3 separate regions of the Homo sapiens genome follow, and all the other regions are linked to region 3. The links are contacts of gene promoters, found by promoter capture Hi-C in blood cells and fetal thymus (Javierre and others, 2016). All regions are on one chromosome and are shown on one strand. The core of a region is centred on a gene start or on the middle of the fragment in contact, and the rest is flanking DNA. Distances in the headings are between cores, read along the strand shown.

Region 1 (3,085 bases), core at 348-2,847, 320 kb before region 3:
CCAGTCGAGGGCTCAGGTGGAGACCGAGTCAGGGCGAGGGGTGCAGGTGGAGTCCTGGATGTCGACTATGATTCAAATAAGCAAAGCCAGGGCATGAGCTGGGGAAGGGCATGGCTGCTGGGAGGGCTTGCCCGGGGACAAGGGGCCACAGGGAAGGGAGGTAGACCAAGCAGCTGAAGCCTGGGCAAGGGAGAGCAGGGCAGGGCAGGGTTGGGCTGGGAGGACGGCGGCACTGCTGTGAACACCGTGGCTTAGGAGTACGGGAGGCACCTGCAAGGCTGGGGGCCCTTCATCCATGAATTCCTCACTCCCTTGCTCTGAGCGAGGAAACACAGTGCAATCTTGCAACCCTGGGGTTCACAGCCCAGCCCCACCAATTCCTGGCTCTGTGGCCTTGGGCAAAATAGCTGAACTCCCTCGGGTTCACTGGGCAAGTGACTGTGCAATGTAGTGCCTTGGTTTCCCCATTTGCAAAATAGGCATAACAATAACAGGGCTAAATGAGCAAATGCCTTGGAAGCACTTGGAACAGTCCCAGGCACGAAGCATTTGTTCAACTACATTTTTCTTTTTTCTGAGACAGGGTCTCGCTCTGTTGCCCAGGCTGGAGTGCAGTGGTGTGATCACTACAGCCTCGAACTCCCAGGCTCCAGCGATCCTCCCACCTCAGCCTTCCAAGTAGCTGGGACTACAGGCACTTGCCCCCGCGCCCGGCTAATTTTTTCATTTCTATTTTTATTTTTGTAAAGACAGGGTCTCACTTTGTTGTCCAGGCTGACCCTGAACTTCTGGTTCAAGTGATCTTCCCGTCTCTGCCTCCCAAAGTGCTGGGGTTACAGGTGTGAGCCTCACCCAGCCTCAATGAAATTTGAGCTGCTCTTCCATTCATTCGCCTGACCAACCTTTACCCAGCACCCTGTGCAGTGGGCAAATGCAGGCTGGGCACTACTGGGGCACAGGTGTGAAAACAGGCATTCCCTCTGGCAGCCCAGAGATAGGGATGGACGTAAACAGACCAAGCCCTCACGCAGTGTAATCCAGACTCTGGTGGAAGGAGGATTAGGGGCTGCAAGGATGCGTGGGCAGGCCTTCTGCCCAACCTTAGAGGGGTGAGGGGTTTTCCAGAGGAGGCACCTCTAAGCTGAGTGGGGCAGACAGACATCCCCAGGGCTCAGCACAGGGATCGGCAGACATGCAATGGTTTTGTGGATGAACAAGACATGAGTTAGGCTGAAGGTGGGAGGAGAAGTGCGCTGGGCCGAAGCCACAGCACATGTAAGGCGCTGGAGGAGAGAGAGTGCCTCGGCCCAGCCAAGGCCTTGCTGAAGGGCAGTGTGGGAAGTGGACAGGGATGATGCAGAGGCCATGGGAGGCTGGCTACACCCATCCTGGGCTTTGCCACTTCCTAGCCCTGCATCTCCTGGATTAGTCCTGGGAGGCCCAGAGAGAAAGAGGTGGCCAAGGCCAGCTGGGCCCAGGGGCCTGGAGGGCAGTTCTGTGGGTGGATGGAGGCTAACCAGCCGCTGCCTTGACCTCCTGCCCTGCTCAGGGCCCAGCGTTCCAGCCAGAACCCCCAGGGAGCAGGAGGGAGGACTTGGCCCCCAGCACTGGCCCAGGCCAAGGCAATCGCAGCCGCCCACTCGACAGGAAGACAGAACGGAGCCAAGGCTCAGGAGACCCAGCTGGCTCCAGGACCCCTCAGGGGCCACAGGGTCCCCCTAATGTCCAGCACCCTGGGACCCGGCTCCTCGCTGTGGCTGGCCAGACCCCAGCGTCTTCTCGGTGTCTGCACTCAGGCCATCCAGGCCCGGCAGGTCGAAGAACATCCTTCCCTCTTTGGTCAGCTCCTACCATCCTTCAGGTCTCAGCGAGACCCTTCCTGACCCTAGAGATGAGGCTCGTGCGCACCAGTGCATGTTCTGAGCATACATCCTCGTTCTCAGCACTGCTCAGTAAAGGCTGCCTTCTGGTGGGCCCTGAGCCCCTCAGGACAGGGGCCGCACATGGCCCTGTTCACAGCTGCATCCTGTGGCCAGTGAGCCAAGGCTGGGTGACCACCAAGCAAACGGCTAAATGAAAGCAAGAAGAAGTCAACTCCATGCAGGGACATCCGGGACCTGCGGGGGAGGGAGGGCAGAACTCATCTGCTTGGGGGACTCAGGTCTTTTTGTGGTTCCAGGAGATTCTCAGCGATCCAAGTGCAAGCCGGGAGGAGACTCCCCCAGCCCACCGAAAGCCACAGCCCATACTGTTCCTCCCAGGACCGAGGCTTCAAGCATGTGGACCAGCCTAGCCTGGACCCTCTTCATTCCCAAGTACAGCAGTTAGGGGGAGGGTCCCGGGGGCCACCATTTATTGAGTTGTGCGACCCCAAGCAACTGATCTCACCCTCAGTGCCTCAGTTTTGCTGTCTGTAAAAGAACAAAGCATGCCGGTTTGGGATGCCGCCTGGGCGAGTCCTTGGTACACGGTGAGAGCCCCGGAATGGTCTGTACCCCCGTCACTGTCCACTCCCCCAACACCCCACTGACTCCCAGGCCCCAGCCCCGTGGCCTCCCTGGGCCTTGGTGGTGGGCTGGGGCTGCCAGAGCCCACTGCTGCCTTTCATCCCAGACAGGAAGGCTCAGCTCAGAGATGACGGGAGGATCCGGAACAGATGTCCAGGAGCCACGGGGGGCTGGGAATGCGGCGACCTCCATCTCCTTCCCTGCCCCTCACCCCATTCCCTCTAGGAGACCCCGGGCCAGAGCTGGCCGCCCACTCTCCCTTCCCATGAGCCTTCAAGGAGAGGGAGCAGTGGGGGGACAGAGCCAGCAGAGGTGGCCTAAGGACCAGGAGGAGAGGTCATCAGACGGCCTCCACAGGGGACACCGACAATCCCAGGCCTCTCCTTCCCCCGCTATTATGCAAGCCATGGCTTAGCCTGGAGCAAACCTAAGTCATAGGAAACCAAAAAGAGGCCAAATCTGGGGCTGCGCTGGGCCCCCGGCGCCCCTTGTGCGTAAACAGAGACCAGCGTCAGGATGTCTTTGAGGAGGCAGGGCGGCCGGGACGAGCATTTCTCAATCCCCGCAAGGGAGCCTCA
Region 2 (3,165 bases), core at 608-3,107, 270 kb before region 3:
ACTCCTGACGTCAGGTGATCCGCCTGCTTCGACTTCCCAAAGTGCTGGGATTACAGGTGTGAGCCACCGTGCCCGGCCTAGGCCCATCTGTGCACTTCCTTGTAAAATCCAGTTTTAGCAAAGAACCCTGCTAAATCAGTGTGGTCAGAACCCCTAAACTGGATATCCGATCAGGCTCCTCATCCTCCACCATCCCCGAGGTGATCTGATCCCCTGGCCCATCAGCAAGAATCCTGCTGGGCTGGTTTAGGCAGAATCCTCCTTTCCTCTAATGTTTCCTCGTGGGGATTTTTCACTCGCTGACCCCCCGCCCCCCCGCCCCGCACCCTGCTCCTCGGCTATTAATCTCCACTTGTCCAGGCTGTGTTTGGAGTTGAGCCCAATCCCCCAAGCCTCAGGCTCCCTTGCCATGGTCCTTGATGATTCTGAATAAAGTTTTCCTAACCATGTCTCCTAACAAGTGCCATTGAATCATTTTTTTTTCTTTAATAGAGTGAGCTAAGAATGGTGTTCGCATTTTTAAAGGGTTGTAAAAAGGAAATCAAAGATGCATATGCAGAGTCTAAAACATTTACTGTCTGGTTCTTGACAGTTTTCCGACTATCATGGTGGAGCTCTCCAGCCTTGGGGAGGGGAGTGGTGAGGTTTGGGGCATGAGACACCGCACGCCGCAGGGGCACAATCTCCCACGGCCCTTGCCCTAGGCCTGGGTGCTGGCCGAGGGACGCACTGCCAGGCTGCTCACAGCCCAGCCCCTGCCTGGGTCCCCAAGTGCCAGACGTCAGTTCTCCGTGGCTCCCATCCCAGGAGGAGGTGAAAAATGTGACACCTATAAGTGGGACATTAAAGTTTAATGGGGGCTGATGCATATTTAATGGGGCTTAACAAAGCATCCTTAAAGACATCCCAGACAGCCCCCCGGGGCGGGGGCATGCTGCCGCGAAAGCTGCCCTGCCCACTGCAGCCGGTGCTCCCTCATCTGTCTGGTGGCGTCCCTAGGAAAACTTGGCATTCCAAGCTCTTGCCAGAGCCAAGTGTGGGCCTGCGGTCTCCGAGGGAGCTGCCCTTTCATTATTAATATTATGAGAATGTCTGACGGGCCACGTGAGTCACAGGGATGTGACTCAGTCTGCCTGCCCCATTCCAGGAAGCCTCTGTTGGACAGAATGGGAGGCCTGCCCCCTCCTCCCTCAGTCCCTCTGTTCCCCAACCTATGTCAGGAGCCACAGCTGGAGTGGAAGGTCAGATGGGGACATCCTGGGAGTGGGGGTGCACAGAGATGGGATAAGATGGGTCCCTGTCATTGACTCCAAAATAACTGCCTGAGACTCGGAGATCCCGCATTCTTTGAATCAGGGCATCTTGGAAGGGCTGCCGTGGACACACCTGAGTCCAGAGGTCCAGGCCTGCTGGCTGTGAGCTCTGACACAGCAACAGGAACTGCATGGCCGTTGTTTCACTGCTCCCCCACCCCCATTGACATGACCTTGGGACCACAGCCTACTCTCAGCTCACCCCTGATATTTCTGGGGTCTCCAAGTGTTTCTCATAAGGAGCCCGCCAGTCCTTATTGATGTCTTCACAGGCCGTGAAGCAGAGGAAGCTTTTCCTCTCATGCTTCATCTTGGCCTGGTGAAGGATGGCGGTGACCTAGAATTCTCAAGTGGCAGGTCCCCAAGACTCAGCCCCATGCCTTGTCCTGGTCTCAGCACTGACCCATTCATCCTCAGTTACCTGTGATGTATAGACTATGCACAGTGCATCCCTGTAGGCTGTCCCTACAACACAATCTGACCCTACAGCACAACCTGTCCCTACAGCACAACCTGTCCCTACAGCACACCCTGTACCTGTAGCCTCTACTTGCAGCACAGCCTGTCCCTGTAGCCTGTACCTGCTGCACAACTTGTCCCCATAGCTTGTACCTGCAGCACAACCTGTCCCTGCAGCCCAGCCTTTGCCTGTAGCCCAGCCATACTGTATTTCACTTCTGGGTGTCTTACTTCCTCCTCAACTTCCCCCATGGGGTGTTCCAGGGCTCCCCCACAGCTCAATACATCCAATATGGAGCTTCAGATCTACCCCAAACGCCTGGTCCTCACCCAAGCTTCCCTGCTGAGGTGAATAGCATCCCATTGTCAAAAGGCCCGGACCAGACACTCGCCGAGGGGCTCTCCTTGAAGCCTGTCTCTCCTAAACATGTTTCTAGCCCTTAGGCCCTGCTGACTTTGTCATCCTCCTCCCAACCCTGGTCCAAGCCACATCACCTCTCCTGGCCTCTGTGCAGCCCCAGCCAACCCCTCGATCCATTTCCCTTCAGGATCAGAGTGAACTTCCAAGTACCATCTGATCACGTGGGGCTCCCATTTAAAATCTGTCAGTGGGTTCCTGGTTCTCTCTGAAACGAGACCAAATCCCTCCCACTCACCCCTGTCCCAACCCAGATATAAGCCCCACTGACACTCCCAGTGCCCAGGGATGCCGGCCCCCTTCTGCCTCAGGACTCCCTGCACCACCAGCGTCAGCAGGGACGCATGAGATTGGCCACCCCCACTTGGTGCCATTTGTCCAATTGCCCTTGATTGAGGACCTGCATTGGGTCAAGGCCTGGTCCCTGGACCCCAAAGCAGCACTATGGAGCCCCAAGTGTCCCAGGGTCCATCCTCGGAAGAGCCCCTTCCTTCAAGAGACACATCCCCTTACTCTAGTTGCATCCCCCCACCCCCCTTGATGTCTGGGGACCCTGGCTCAGCTGTCCTGGGCCCAGTCAGAATCGCCGGCGAGGCTGGCCAGGAGCCTGGGCCCAGTTGGAATGGGCCAATGTCAATCTGTTGTGTGAGAAGGGAGGCCTCCCCGATGTGCAGAAGTTTGGGATGTTAATCCACAGAGCATCCATCTGGGTCAGGGATTTGAAGATGTGTTCTGCAGTCTCAGGTTCTGCGGGGGCTGAAGGCAGGGGCTGCTGGAGGGGGAATGGGAGGCCAGCAGGGTGCCCTGGGCCCTTCAATAACCACCTCCCAACCCTTGGGACGGGGGTGGTTCTGTATGAAGTCACATTTGAACAGAGTATTCCAACCACAGTCGAATCCAGACACCTCATTTCACAGATGGGGAAAGTGTAGCTGGGCTGGGTGTGGGGGCTAAGGGTGCTCTTCTTGGTCACAG
Region 3 (3,072 bases), core at 1-2,500:
TCTTAAGATTTCCTAGGGGCCAGGCATGGTGGCTCATGCCTGTAATCCCAGCACTTTGGGAGGCCGAGGCGGGCAGATCACACTTGAGGTCAGGGGATCGAGACCAGCCTGGCCAACACAGTGAAACCCTGTCTCTACTAAAAAAAAAAAAAACCAAAAATTAGCTAGGCATGGTGGCGTGCACCTGTAATCCCAGCTACTCAGGAGGCTGAGGCAGGAGAATCACTTGAACCCAGGAGGCAGAGGTTGCAGTGAGCCGAGATCGCACGACTGATCTAAGACAGACTCCGTCTCAAAAAAGAAAAAAAAATTTCCTGGTATCCACTAACCTTAAACTAACAGGTTAAAGGGCAATGCTATGAATGCTGTGCCCCTTGTACATATACAAGTAAAAAAATAATAATAATAAAGGTTGAAACACTAGTGTTATCTATGATGATATAATGGCTGGTTTTACTTCTTTTCTTACATAATTGTCTCATTTAATCCTCATTACCGTATCATACTGTTATTATCACTATCTTACAGATGAGGAAACTGACCGTGGAGAGGCAATGCCGCTAATAAGATGTGATGGTAGCAGGACCGGAACCCCAACTGTCTGACTCAAGAGCCTTCCCTCTTAACCACAATACACTGCACTACACCCCTTAGATTCAAAATGTGTATAAATGGGTGCATGCAGCACAATGTAACTGTTTGCCCTAAGATCGAACAATTACGGATTCTAAACTGAAGAGGAGGCAGCCAAGAACGCCCACCGTCCCCTCAGAGAGCTGAAAACTGGAAAAGAGCCTGCACCTAACCCTCCCCAGCTTTCCAGGTCTCCCACAAGGAAGGATCAAAGATTTGGACTTCAGGCAGAAGACCCAAAAGTCACAGCCACCGGAGGTCAGGAGTGGAGGGTTTCAGGGAGCTGAGACAAATGCAGACGGGGACACACAAGATGCAGGGAGCAAGAAGCACGAGGCTCGGAAGCGAGGTGTGTAGGATGCTCAGACGAAGTGCCCTGGGTCCCGCGGGGAGTTACACACACAGGGATACGAGGCCTGGACCACGTGCAGAGAGCCCTGAAGCCGCTCTCTGAAGCCTCGACTCCCCCAAGTCCCCACGTACCGCATGAATCCTGTGTCCGTAGTGATTGTATCCCCCGGCACCACTAGATGTTTCTTAGTGTCGCGGCCCAGTCTCTCGCTAAGAGGCTTGCGAGCCACTGGAAGCCTCATCTCCATCGCCATCTTGGCGCCAATGAGTTGCGCAGGCGCAGCTCAGTCGGGAGCTGCGATATCCGACTCCACAACTCCAGGCCGCGTTCGGAGGGGCGGGGAAGGGCGGGGACTCAGAGCAGCTGCCAATGAGAACTCACGGCCTAGAGGCCATGTTTACAATTGGCAACAATAAGGCGAACCCGAAGGGAAGGGAGCCGAGCTGCCATGTCTACTATTGGCAAGGAAGCACCCGTGGAATAATAAAATCTCACGTTGTGTGGCGTGTGACTTTTTACCAAAACTGTCTTGTACTCATCATCCCATTTATTGTTTACCAGGGTTAGAGATAATTGAGAAACGGACCTCTGAGTTTCTGTCCAATTCTAAGCTGCTGAAATCCGATATTTTGTAAGAGAGAGCTCAGGAGGATGGAGAGATGGGATCTACAGAAAACACTATTTGAACAGAAAGAAGAGCCCCTTTCCACACGGTTCCCAGTAGCGCCAGGATTCTACATTGCGGCCGCCCCGTGGGTGCTGGCTCAACATCATCATCTATAACCCCAAACCGGGCTCCAGATACTTCTCACTTGGTTCTGTCCTTTCATAAGGACTCCTTTGAACAAGCTAATTTACTCCAATATTTCTTTTGGAAACAAGTTAAAAATCGTCTAAGAAAACAGGTCAAACCTTGCAAGCCAGGTATATTTGGTAGGGAAGGGAAGAGCACACACAATGCGAAGATCTTGGCTTGCATTTAGTTACACAGCGAGTTGAGCGCTCTCTGTGTGCCAGGCGCTGTTCTAAGGACTCAGCGGGGAACAGACGGATGTCTCTGTGGGTTTTTCTGCGGCTCCGTTTTAATAGGAGGGTACCCCTCGCCCCTTCTCCCCGTCCCCCACTACCCTCTCCCTCTCCTTGCCCTGCATTCACAAGAAACTAATTGGGGATGGTAACTCCCCATGCACAGGGACTCTAAAGACGATTAAATGAAATCATTGGCATCAGCTGTGGTCAGTAAAGCCGGTAAACCAAGTCCGCCTCCTGAAGAAAGATCCATCGAGCCAATTGTTTTATAAATCTCCAAAGCGACAGCATTTCTTCCACTTAAGCAAGTCTCACGACCACACTTAAGAAAGCCAGCCCTGCCAGGCAGTCGATGACATGAATGCTAGTGCCCCGAGGCCCTGGGTAAGCGGGCTGCCAGACCCTCGCCCTCTGCCGTGCCTGGAGGAAGGCACTAGAGCCCAGCCCCTCGGTCCAGTCCTGCCGCGGCCATAAGAGGGCGATGGTGTCCTCTGAGCTCGCGTAGCCCGGCAGCCGGGGAGCCAGGCCCAGCGAGCGGCCCTAGGCGGAGCGAGAGTGTAGGCCTGACACCATCCAAGTTCTTCCCGGGAGGGAGAGACGTCGCCTTTACCCCGCGCATTCTCACAGCGTTCACAAGGTTGGCATTGTGGATACCAGTTTATGGAGGAGGAAATCGAGGCCCCAAAAGGAATGGAATTCACATTAGCAGATGGCTGCAAAGCCGATGTGTGTTCCAACTGCACGCGATTTACCCCAGAGCCTGCACCCTTTACCAGAAATAGCCCGAGTGCTTCGGCTGGTCCTTTGCTGAGTGCTTTACAAATACTATGTTATGTATTCCTCACTTTCAGCCCATCTTCGAGATAGGCATTGCTATCCCTGATGATCACTTGGGGCCACCGAGCCCCCCAAACAGACCCGTAACTGGGACTAGAATCCAAAACGACAGGGACTCCCCCTCTCCCATCCCCAGTGCTCCTCTTTCTGCATCATCACACGCACCTTTTTTTATTTTTATTTTTTTCGAGACAGAGTCTTTGTCACCCAGGCTGGAGTAC

Evidence for each region. The method cuts DNA at HindIII sites, captures the fragments that hold promoters and counts their contacts. A CHiCAGO score of 5 or more calls a contact.
Region 1: a fragment that was not itself captured here is called in contact with the fragment with the promoter of EXOSC2 in region 3 in 3 of 17 cell types (M0 macrophages, M2 macrophages and endothelial precursors); the score reaches 5.8 in M0 macrophages.
Region 2: a fragment that was not itself captured here is called in contact with the fragment with the promoter of EXOSC2 in region 3 in 1 of 17 cell types (endothelial precursors); the score reaches 5.4 in endothelial precursors.

What each region holds. Positions count from the first base shown.
Region 1 is chr9:131,012,467-131,015,551 of GRCh38, reverse strand. All of the region lies in intron 1 of LAMC3 (laminin subunit gamma 3), which reads right to left. Among named protein-coding and RNA genes, the nearest start is that of LAMC3, 4.8 kb to the right of the region's middle. RefSeq lists enhancers at 1,615-2,182, 2,183-2,750, 2,751-3,085. The HindIII fragment of the contact is 5,876 bases long and covers 1-3,085 here.
Region 2 is chr9:130,960,690-130,963,854 of GRCh38, reverse strand. No RefSeq gene overlaps it. Among named protein-coding and RNA genes, the nearest start is that of FIBCD1-AS1, 22 kb to the right of the region's middle. RefSeq lists enhancers at 205-791, 792-1,379 and a silencer at 3,092-3,165. The HindIII fragment of the contact is 504 bases long and covers 1,606-2,109 here.
Region 3 is chr9:130,691,958-130,695,029 of GRCh38, reverse strand. It overlaps EXOSC2 (exosome component 2), which reads right to left and starts at 1,250. Exons shown (of 9, transcript NM_014285.7): 1 at 1,117-1,250. The coding sequence starts at 1,238. RefSeq lists an enhancer at 998-1,187. The HindIII fragment of the contact is 5,769 bases long and covers 1-3,072 here.